Linked DNA regions of Homo sapiens: region 1 is linked to region 2. Evidence: promoter capture Hi-C in 16 types of primary human blood cells and fetal thymus (Javierre and others, 2016). All regions are on one chromosome and are shown on one strand. The core of a region is centred on a gene start or on the middle of the fragment in contact, and the rest is flanking DNA. Distances in the headings are between cores, read along the strand shown.

Region 1 (5,741 bases), core at 2,417-4,916, 380 kb before region 2:
GCAGGATGAGCAGGTGAAGGATGAGGGTCTACATGACCACCCAGTCTGGACTCTTGGGACCTTCCCAGTTGGCAGGTTCAGGAGTTTTCTTCAATATAGCTTTTCCTTCAGTCCACCTTGGTCACATTGAAGCCTGTAAAAAACTAGTCCTGTGGCTGGGCGTGGTGGCTCATGCCTGTAATCCTAGCACTTTGGGAGACTGAGGCAGGCGGATCACGAGGTCAGGAGTTCCAGACCAGACTGCTAACATGATGAAACCCTGTCTCTACTAAAAATACAAAAATTAGCCGGGCGTGGTGGTGCGTGCCTGTAATCCAGCTACTCAGGAGGCTGAGGCAGGAGAATTACTTGAACCCGGGAGGATGATGTGGCAGTGAGCCAAGATTGAGCCACTGCACTCCGGCCTGGGTGACAGAGCGAGACTCCATTTCAAAAACAAAACAAAACAAACAAACAAACAACTAGGCTTGTTGGACCAAGAAATCTAATTATTGGTGTTTTTCCACTTGTGGGAAAAATGTGCCTAATGCATTTGTATGTCAGTCTACTTATTTGTTTATCTATCTATCACTAGTGAAAAGATCACACAAAAATATTAACAGTGGTTATCTCTGGGGTGTGAAATTATGGGTAATTTTTGTCTTTTTGTTATACTTTTCCATTTTTCCCAGCTTTCTCCAATGGGCATGTATTTATTTTTATAATCATAAAAAAGCAATAAAAAAGTCTATAACCAAAATATAGTGTTCGAGAAGCTCAAGTTCTTGATGAATAGTGTACTCTGAAAAAAGGCATATAATATATGGCAAAGACAAGGAGAAATTCCATCAAAATATTCTTCTTCGTTGTTGCTGGATTGTTAACCTCTTTAGGCTCCAGATTAGCTCAGAATGAGAACATTTAGCAATCTCAAGGTCTATGTTGGAGCCAGTTTCACAGTGAAGCAAAGCCCCTACCCCAGGGCACAGCAAAGTCTTTGTGCTGAGAGGAAAACAATGGCACATATGTCCCAGAGAAAGAGGCAGCTCATAATTCTTTTCCCTGGCAGCCTATTAAAGCTTCTCAGACATTGGACTAAATTCTGTCCTTCCTCCAAGAAGAAGTGGACTTCTGTGTCCTTGAATAAAACTCAAAATAAGTTATGGATATAAGCCAGCAGCTCTTCTCATGGATTGCAGAGCCAAGAGTCACTACTTGTCTGTCCTCCACATTCAGGTCAGTTTTCAGAAAAAGGAGATTTCTCACTCCAACGAGAATGCAAAGAATCCAAGGCGGCCATTGTGTCATTATTTAACAAGTTCCTTCATCCATTTATGCCCCAGTTGAATCAGATGCAGATTCTGTGCCCGGCACTGTGCTAAGTGCTTCACGTGTATATTTTATTCACTCCTCACAATGACCCTGTGAGGGTCATCAGATTACATATGAAGAAGTGAGAACCGGCTGGGCGCGGTGGCTCACGCCTGTAATCCCAGCACTTTGGGAGGCCGAGGCAGGCAGATCAGGAGGTCAGGAGATCAAGACCATCCTGGCTAATATGGTGAAACCCTGTCTCTACTAAAAACACAAAAAAACTAGCCGAGCATGGTGGCGGGCGCCTGTAGTCCCAGCTACTCGGGAGGCTGAGGCAGGAGAATGGCGTGAACCCGGGGGTGGAGCCTGCAGTGAGCCGAGACTGTGCCACTGCACTCCATCCTGGGCAACAGAGTGAGAATCCATCTCAAAAAGAAAAAAAAAAAAAAAAGAAATGAGAACCAAGATCTCAACCCACCCTGGCAGTGCTTTCAGAGCTGCACAGCCCTACCACACTATACTGCCCTTGCTGTGCAGACACAGATATGAAATGCCCTGGCTGTGCCCTGGGGGGCATGAACTAGAGTGAGTAGAGTCAGATGTCCTCAAGTAAGGGTCAAGTAAACAAGTAAGGGTCATAAAAGGGCCAGGTGCAGAGAGCGAGGTATGTACAGGGCATGGAGGAGGGAGTGGTCCAGTCACCCAGGGTGGGGCAGTGGTTTGGGAAATGTTTCCCAGAGCAGGTGGCCTTTGTACTGGGTATAATGAGGCTGACAAGGGTGACTGATTCTTTGTGAGGGGAACAGATGCTAGTGGTGAGGTTATTACAGGCCAAAGGAGCAACCTCAGCAGCAGGTTGGGAAGCACAAAGATTGACCCCCACTCTCAGCATTGGACATATATCATCTAGGCAGAAAGTCAACAAAGAGACATTAGATTTAAACTGCACTATAGACAAAGGGACCTAACAATTTGCAGAACATTCTATCCAACAACTACAGAATATACATTCTTCTCATCAGCACGTGGTACATTCTCCAGGATAGACCACATGTTAGGCTTCAAAATAAGCCTCAACAAATTTCCCAAAATCATATCAATTATCTTCTTAGAGCACAATGGAATAAAATTAGAAATCAATACAAGGAGGGAACATTGGAAACTACACAAATACATGGAAATTAGACAACATGTTCCTGAATGACCATTGGGTCAATAAGAAATTAAGATGGAAATAAAAACAGTTCCGTGAAAGAAATGAAAATGGAAACACAACATACCAAAACCTGTGAGAAAAGTAAAAGCAGTGCTAAGAGGGAAATTTATAGCAATAAATTGTTCCATCAAAAAGTAGAAACATTAAAATTAACAATCTAACAATGCAAGGTGAAGGGGCAAGTGAGCAAGAAGTGAGATAAGAAGTAGAGGTTGAGCAGCCAAAACAAAAGTGAGATTAGCTGGGCGTGGTGGTGGGTGCCTGTAATCCCAGCTACTCTGGAGGCTGAGGCAGGGGAATTGCTTGAACCAGGGAGGTGGAAGTTGCAGTGAGCCAAGATCGTGCCACTGCACTCCAGCCTGGGGGACAGAGCAAGACTCTGTCTCAAAAAAAAAAAAACAAAAAAAAAGATAATACACCATGATTAAGTGAGATTTATGCCAGGGATGGAAAGATGGTTCAACATATACAAATCAATAAATGGGATACATCACATCAACAGAATGAAGGACAAAACCATATGATCATCTCAATAAATGCAGAAACAGTATTTGATAAAATTTCTGATAAAAATTTTTGATAAAAATTGATACAATTTACATAAAAACTCTCAACAAACTAGCTATAAAAGGAACATACTTAAAATAACAAAGACCATATATGACAAGCCTATATGAATGAAACATGTCATTTGCAGCAACATGGATGGAACTGGAGGCCATTATCTTAAGTGAAATAAGTCAGGCACAAAAAGGCAAATATCACACATTCTCACTTATATGTGGGAGCTAAAAAATTTGATCATATGGAGGTAGAGAGTGGAAAGATAGAGAACAGAGATGGAGGTAGAGAGTGGAAAGATAAAGAACAGAGACTGGGAAGTGTGAGTCTGGGGAAAGGGGGAGGATGAAGATGAGGCAGGACAGTTAGTCAAGGAAGTTACTATGCCCTTGGGATTTGGCAACCTTGGTGACCTCATAGTCACCACAATAAGCCCCAGCATTCGCACTGCAGTCAAGCTCATTCAGCAAAGCTGTCTCCAGTAGGGAATTTCCCCTGTAGAGAGCATGCACATTTTGATTTTACCTGTCCTCAGACTGACCCTTTGCTCAATATAATAATAAAAAACACCCCTGGTTGGAGATTTAGGGTGCTAATGACACATGCAATGTATGAACAAGCATGTACAGGTACTGCACATGTGCACCCATCCCAGAACATGCTTCCTAGCAACACAGTTTCCCACCCCCTCATGAATAATCAGGTAAGCCTTCGATAAAGGGAGTCTCCCTCAAGTGGGTCTTTGCTATCTCATCCTCATAGGCAGCCCACCCTGAATCCCTCTTGGGGCATCCTGTCTATTCTGCACCTAACTTTCAGGGTATTCTTCCTCCTTTGCAATAAATTGCTCTACACTGCATCTCCTTTGCTGTGTGTCTCCTGTTTAAATTCCTTTAAACTAGGAACACAAGAACTGAGGTTTCACAGCAGCCATCAACAAAGAGAAGTGGGTTAAAGCATATAAATATACAGTTAGATAGAAGGAATAAATTCAATGTTTGATAGCAGAGGAGGGTGACCATACTTAACAAAATGTATTGTACTTGGGTGATGGACACCTGGAATACCCTGGCTTGATCACTATACATTACACATAAGTAACAAGTTTTCTCATGTACCCCATAGATTTGTACAAAAACAAAAAAGCACAAAAACTGGAAGCAGTCTGGAGTCTGTCAACAGGAGAATGGATGAATAAGGGAACTATCTGATTGTGGCCTATTTGATGGAATATTACTCTGCAATCAAAAGGAACAGACTGAGACTGATACACGCAGCATGGATGAGTCTTCAGGACATTGTGTCAAGTAAGAGAAGTCAGATTCAAAAGATGAAGTCCTTTCCTGAGCACTTACTACATGCCAGACACCATACCAGGTATTTGCAAGATAACGCCATCTATAGGAAGTTCTGAAGAGGCAAAAAGAACAGTGGCTGGCTCTAGGGGGTGAGGGTGAGACTGGGACAGACTGGGAAGGGGCATGAGAATGTTCTGGGGGTGATGGTAAGGCTATCTTGCTGGGAGTTTGAGTCACACAAATGTATGCATTTGTAAAAACTCATTAGATGTGCATGTGGTAGGCTGAATAATTGCTCTCCAAGAGGGTCACATCCTGATTCCTGGAAGCTGTGAATATGTTGTTTCACATGGCAAAAAGGACTCTGCAGATGCGATTAAACTAAGAATCTTGAGATGGGAGATTATCCTGCGTTATCCATGTGGAACTGATGTAATCACAGTCTTTATAAGAAGAAGGCAGGGGATCAGAGTGAGTAGGAGAGGTAACTATGAAAGCAAGAGGTTGGTGATGTGAGGAAGGGGTCATGAGCCAAGGAATGCTTTCGAAGGTGAAAAAGGCAAGGAAACAGATTGTCCCTTCAGAGATACCAGAAGAAGCCAGCCCTGATTACACCTTGACTTTGGCCCAGCCAGACTGATTTTGGACTTCCAAGAGAATAAATGTATGTCATTTAAAGACACTAAGTATGTGGTGATTTGTTACCATAGCAAGGATACTAATACACTGCCTCTAATATTTGTGCATTTCGTTGTATGTTAATTTTACATACAATGGGAAAAAATTTCATTGTATGTTAATTTTACATACGAAAGAAAAAAAGAACTGGAAACAAATTTGGAACTCTAGTTAATAATATGCATGCTGAAGCATTTAGGGGTAAGTATGCAGATATCTACTACTTACTTTGAAATGCACAAAAATGGGATGGATAAATGAATTGATACATGATAAAGCAAATACAGGAAAATATTAATTTTAGTGTCTAGATAGAGAAGTATTCACTTGTAAATTTTTAAAATTTTATTTTTGAAAATTTTCATAGTAAAATGTTGAAGGGAAAAAGGCAGAGGCTTGATCCTCGATGGTGTTTAGGAATTGTGAGTAGTTCTGCAAAGTTAGGTTGTCTGTACTGGGGTAAGAGTAGTTGGCTCAGCCAGTCAGAATGCTGGAGGAGTAGGGAAGGAGATGTGGAGGGAATATAGACTTTATCCTGAAGGCAACGAGGAGCCAGTGCAATGCTTTAAACAGGGAGGTACAGAACAGGATTTGCGTTTTCAACTCTCACTGCACAAGTCATACCTCCGACTGAATTCTTTGAACAGCTGCTTACTTGATTTGAATGCAGGTCATTCGAAGAGAAGTTAGGGCTT
Region 2 (6,180 bases), core at 159-2,658:
CTCAGGCATCTGAGCACAGCATCCAGCCATGCGGGGATTCATCCCACATCTAATCGCAGTTCCCACTTACAGAGCAGGGTGGTTGGAGATGCCTCCAGAGCCCAGCGTGGGGAAGACCTTAGACCCAGCCCAGCAGGGCAACCATCAAGAGGAAGGGAAGAGGTTAACTGCTGAGGACCAGGTTGGCTGAAATGTAGGTGAAATCAGAAATATTGCTTTTGGTAAGGTCTTGACCCCTCCAATCCCTCCAATGCCCAGTTCACAGAATCCTAACTGTGCAAGGGGCAGGAAAGATCAGAAAAGCAGACGTGGAAAAATCAGCATCCCCCACCCCCTGCTTTGCGGGAGGAGCTCCGCTGGCTTCCTCCTGGGGGCTGCTCTGCGGCACCATCTAGCTTCATGGGGCATCTGACCGGCTGCTTCCGCCTGCTTCTTCCTCCCTTCTGCCAGTCTCAGCCCTCCTCCTCTTCAGGGCTCACACCCACTCCCCGACACGCCTTCTTTTAGGACAGCCACTCTCATAGATGTCTGGGAATATGCCTCTGTCCCCATCCTGCCGAATCTACTCCCCAGCAGGCTGGGGAGACACGCTTTGGACCAGGAGGAAAGCTTCCCAGGGCCCCTGCCATTCAACTCTGCCATTCAACCCTGCCATTCAACCCAGCCTCCTCTCCCATGGCTGAGCAGGCTGCCTTCCCGGTGCCAAGCCCATCCTCCCCCACAGCCATGCACCAGTGCACACACATCTACACACGAGTGCACATGTCACACATGCACTGCGGTCGTGTCCCATGGGGTCCCACGGCGTCCCACAGTCTCCGAGGCTCCGCAATCCACCTGGCTCTATCCCTCCATCTCTCACCTGGGTGGAAGCAGCTGCTGGTCCCCCAGGGCACAGGATGTGAGGAAGGTGAGGAGGGTGAGGGGAGAATGGCCGGAGAGCGACCCTCTTCCCAGGCCCTGGTCTTCCTGGCAGGAGGGTTTCGGGTGTTTCTGCAAAGGAAGAGATTTCTAGAAATAGCCTTCACATCCACAGAGGCATAAATGCAGTCGGAGAGGAAGTTCCCTGTGCAGGCCACAGGCTCAGAACCTCGAGAGCCGTCGGGGCTCAGGGAGGAGCCAGCATCGGGGACACACGCGCCTTCCCTGGGTGCTGAGCGCCTCGTGGGGTCACAACACAGCAGAAACTGAGGAGCCCGGCCCGTCCCGCAGCTGCAGACTGAGAGGAGGGAGGAGAAATGACAGCAGAGGCTTGGCCAGGGGCTGGGGCGCCGGGGCCGGTGCCAGGCTGAGCTTCAGAAGGGCTGCAAGAACAGGGGCTTGGATAGGGCAGGAAAAGGACGTCAAGCCAGTTCCTGTTCCTGAGAGGACAGAGATTGTGGCGCCGCTACAAGCTCTGAGCAAAGCCAGCTCCGGGCCTCTGTGTGCCCTTAAGTGGCCTTTAGGACTTCCTCTCACAAGTCCTTCCTCGCTTCCCTTCCCTTCCCTAAAACCCACAACCCGGGGAACTCCAAGCCTGACAGACCAACGCTGCTTCTCAGGGAATGAATGCTTTTCCCCAGCTTGCAAAACGTGAAATGCTAGACTTCGATGCTTTCAAATATTTCACAAAATGAAATCCCTTTTGTGAAAGAACATAGTGTCCAAACTACCTGGTCTCTACTTCATAAGGAAGTCAAACACGGAGGAAGACTTCTTAAAAAATGTTTACTAGGGTAAAAATGATGTAACATTAATAGTACCATCCTAACCATTTCTAAGTGTATAGCCCACAGTAGAAAGTACATTCACATGGTTGTGTGCCAGATCTGCAGGACTTTTCATCCTGCAGCACCCAAACTCTCCCCATTACACCCCAACTCACCTCCCCGAACCCCAGCCCGGGTAACCACCGTTCTACTTTCCGTTTCTATGATTTTTTTTTTTTTTTTGAGACAGAGTCTTGCTCTGTCGCCCAGGCTGGAGTGCAATGGTGTGATCTCGGCTCACTGCAACCTCCACCTCCCGAGTTCAAGCAATTCTCCTGCCCCAGCCTCCCGAGTAGCTGGGATTACAGGTTCCCGCCACCACACACGGCTAATATTTGTATTTTTAGTAGAAACGGGGTTTCACCATGTTGGCCAGGCTGGTCTTGAACTCCTGACCTCAAGTGATCCACCTGCCTCAGCCTCCCAAAGCGCTGGGATTACAGGTGTGAGCCACCACACCCGGCCTGTTTCTATGATTTTTGGCAACGTCAGATACTCATGTGAGTGGAGTCCCACAGTGTCTGCCCTCCTGAGACTGAGCAGAATGCCCTAGAGGTTCATCCAAGTGAGTGCGGGACCCTCTGCGCTCTGCACAGCAGGGCCCTCTTCACAGGATGCAGAGGCTAGGGCCTCGAGGGACTGGAGCTCAAGTTAGTTTTCCAAATGTCTGAGGTGGTGCTAAGCTTTCCAAAGGGACCCCGCAGAAGGAGGAGCAGTGGGGGTGGCTGAAGTAGAGGGGCATGCTTCAGATATGAAGTCTCTACAGTAGTCAAAACCACAGGCTTTGGGGAGCTGCTGTCAGCCTATCACATCCCGAGGGATCCACCCTCCCCCTGGACTGGTCTTCATGCGCCAGCCTTGAGGACTGCTCTACCTTGTTATGAACCTGAGGGAAACCCTGGTTATGCTGGGATGGCTCAAGAAGAGCTTTGGGGACACACAGGACACATCTTGATGGGGAAAGCTGACAAAGCCCTTCCCATGTCCCACTCTACCTGTCTCCTCATTGAAAGAGGATCTATTTTGGAAGAACCCCACCCTTCCTTTACAGTAGGTCAACGCACATAAAACCAACTCATTATAATGAAAAGACAAAAACCCGAAGCCAGGTACTGCAGTTCATCCCCGCTGGGGTACTAACAGAGGCAGAGGCTCAGCAAGAAACTGTTTCCCCAAAATAGAGAAGAAAAGGCTCACTCATTCTTAAATGAAATATTAAGCATCCAGGGATTGCTCTAAGTAAAACTGAAGCTGCAAATAACTCCTCAAAGATTCAGCAAGTCGATTATTTGCTGAGTTGACCATTTTGCAAAATGATCTTTCAGCAAATCAGCTCCTAGAGAATTGATTTCCGTGCAGAAGGCAGGCTGCCGGGTTCTGGTTTGGCACCGATCTGAGGCAGGATGGGGGCTCCCTGCCCCCTAGTGGCTTTGTGGCTAATGACAAGTGCAGCAAAATGCTCCCCAGCGGGCCGAGAGCCCTGACTCAGCAGGCAGGTGAAACACTGGGGAGAAGTTCTAGACTTCCAGAAATCGAATAAGCCAGGAAGACACATGTTATGCAAGCAAGGAGAAATCTACCAGGACCAAGCACCGTATTAGACACAGAGGGCACAAAGATTAGCAAGGCAAATACCTGACTCAAAGGGGCCCTAACTCAGTCTGAGGATGGGGAAGAGACTACGCTGTGGTCACGAAACGAGGTAATGTGCTGTGATAGAGATGCGTCCAGGCTGCCACGCAAGTGAGGAGGAGACGATGTAAACCCCGCAAGATGGAAAAACAACCAATTGGGGAAATAAACTTATAAACAAATCCGTAAACCCGCCATTTCCTGTGGCAGGTACTGACGGAGTGGTAGAGACGGAGTTTCACTATGTCCTGCCATGGAGAAGATTGTAAGGCACAGTGAAGGGAAGGCCGCGCGGGAAAGGTAATGCCTAAGTCTTGAAGGGCTGTAACATTTGCCTGTCAGATGACGGAGGGAGGACGCCTCAGGCAGACGGAGAATGGCAAACGCCACCGGCATCGGGGCCCTAAGACAGCCCAGCAGGTGCGAGAAAACGCAGTCAGGCTGGAGACAGAAGGACCGGTCAGAGGCTGCTGCAGCACCCAAGCTAGAAATGAGGAGAACTAACGCAGAGACAGCAGCAAGGGGAACAGATTTATTACAAATAGAAACAATAAGGCCGGGCCTGGTGGCTCATGCCTGTAATCCCAGCACTTCCTGGGAGGCCGAGGCCGGCGGCTCAACTGAGGTCAGGAATTCGAGACCACCCTGACCAACATGGTCAAACCCCGTCTCTACTAAAAATACAAAAAAATTAGCTGGGTGTGGTGGCACGTGCCTATAATCCCAGCTACTCAGGAGGCTGAGGCATGAGAATTGCTTGAACCCGGGAGGCGGAGGCTGCAGTGAGCCAAGATAGCGCCACTGCACTCCAGCCGGGGCAACACGAGTGAGACTGTCGCGGAAAAGAAAAGAAACAATAAAAGAATTTCTTAAAAAGATGAATTCACAGTTGTTAACACGATTGACCCAGTTGCCACATCAAAGGGAGTGCTATTCACTGCAGACATCTTTGTTATTTTGGAAAACATTATTATACGTTATTTCATTTCAAAGATGGAAAATGTGTGTGTTTACTACAGCTTTGGTAGATGGTAGTAAAGTGTCTTGTGACTAAATTTGTATATTTTGACAAGTTTTTGATGGAATTAAGTATCTTGTTCAAATGGAGTCCATGTCTGTTATAGTAATTCAGAAATAATATACTTATTTTAAAACGTTTAGCTTCTCCTGTAATTCCAGCTCTTTGGGAGGCCGAGTCGGGTGGATCATTTGAGGTCAGGAGTTCAAGAGCAGCCTGGCCAACATAGTGAAACTCCATCTCTACTAAAAATACAAAAATTAGCCAGGCATGGTGGCATGCACCTGTAATTCCAACTACTCGGGAGACAGCTTTTTCTGATTCTCATAAAGGGCAGTGGTCACCCAGGCTGCCTGGATGTGGAGCAGCCTGGCATCACAGTACTTTCTAGTGGCCTTTATGGAGAGAGGGCTGAGAGGCTGGTGTTTTGCTAGAGATGAGCACGTCGGCATGGGGATGCTGGGCTTGAGGCTTCTAGAGACAGAGCAGGCAGGGGCATCCAAAGGTCTTGATTGATTCCTGTGTCCCAAGGATTCTTCATGCCAATCCTCTCACTGAAAACGACTAAAAATAAAGAGGATAAAAATATTTCTAAATCTTCTCGACACCATCCAAGGGCCAATGAGATGATAAAGAATGACTTTCTTCCAGCCTGCACTCTTGCTGGAGCGCAGGCACCCTGTGCCCAGCTGCAGCCCTCAACCCCACTCTGGACCTACATTCAACACAGCTCCCCTGGGCTTTGCTTACAGGTTTCCTTTTGCTTTTCTTGTTTGTTTTGGGTTTGGTGGGGGTGGGGGTGCTGCTATTGCTGCTGCTGCTGGTGGTGGTTTATTGCCAAGTAAGACAAAGTGCCCTCTTTTTATTGCAGTGGTGACTTTTCTTCACCTTCTTAGCTGGCAGCAAAGGCCTAAAAGAGTCATGTTGCTTCTGGAAGATTCTAGAGAGATACAGGCAGTCATAAGAGGCCCACAGACAATAATCAGGAGTGGAAATAGAAAGTTCTTAAACTCTGAGTGATTGATAGTGGTAGCAAACAGCTTTGTGAAGGTAAAAACTATGAGTCAATGGTAGTTAAAAGCTGGCAAGAGACCTGATTTTGAAATGAAAAAATCCACCAAAAGAGAAGGATCACCCAAACAGAGAGGGAGGGGCAATTCCTGTAAAATTCCACAGCAACTTCATATGATCCCAGGGTTTTCCCAGCACCTCACTACTCATTCTTCTTCCTGGGATTTCCCCAAATTCTCCATATTTTTTCACCTATAAAAAGTGAGGGTCGGGTGCGGTGGCTCACCCCTGTAATCCCAGCACTTTGGGAAGCCAAGGCAGGTGGATCACTTGATGTCAGTAGTTCAAGACCAGCCTGGTCAACATGGTGAAACCCCGTCTCTACTAAAAATAGAAAATTAGCCTGGCTTAATGGGGCACTCCTGTAGTCCCAGGTACTCGGGTAGCTGAGGCAGGAGAATCACCTGAACCCAGGAGGTGGAGGTTGCAGTGAGCCAAGATCACACCACTGTACTCCAGCCTGGGCAGCAGAGTGAGACTCTGTCTCAAAAAAAAAAAAAAAAAAAAAATTTTAAGTGGGGACAGCTGGATGTGTTGGCTCACACCTGTAATCCCAACACTTTTGGAGGCCAAGAAGGGAAGATCCCCTGAGGCCAGGATTTCAAGACCAGCCTGGGAAACATAGAGAGACTCCATCTTTGCAAAAAAAGTTTTAAAATTAGCTGAGCTTGGTGATATGCACCTGTGGTCCCAGCTACCTGGGAGGCTGAG

The links. The method cuts DNA at HindIII sites, captures the fragments that hold promoters and counts their contacts. A CHiCAGO score of 5 or more calls a contact.
Region 1: a fragment that was not itself captured here is called in contact with the fragment with the promoter of GIMAP8 in region 2 in 1 of 17 cell types (M2 macrophages); the score reaches 6.0 in M2 macrophages.

Annotation. Positions count from the first base shown.
Region 1 is chr7:150,827,363-150,833,103 of GRCh38, reverse strand. LOC105375567 (a long non-coding RNA gene) reads left to right here. Exons shown (of 5, transcript XR_928171.3): 3 at 4,196-4,447. LOC124901775 (a long non-coding RNA gene) reads right to left here. Exons shown (of 3, transcript XR_007060591.1): 2 at 5,671-5,741; 3 at 3-133. Among named protein-coding and RNA genes, the nearest start is that of AOC1, 22 kb to the left of the region's middle. The HindIII fragment of the contact is 5,212 bases long and covers 1,061-5,741 here.
Region 2 is chr7:150,445,858-150,452,037 of GRCh38, reverse strand. GIMAP8 (GTPase, IMAP family member 8) reads right to left here and starts at 1,408. Exons shown (of 5, transcript NM_175571.4): 1 at 863-1,408. LINC00996 (long intergenic non-protein coding RNA 996) reads right to left here. Exons shown (of 4, transcript NR_034033.1): 3 at 5,149-5,338; 4 at 3,898-4,962. The HindIII fragment of the contact is 1,822 bases long and covers 612-2,433 here.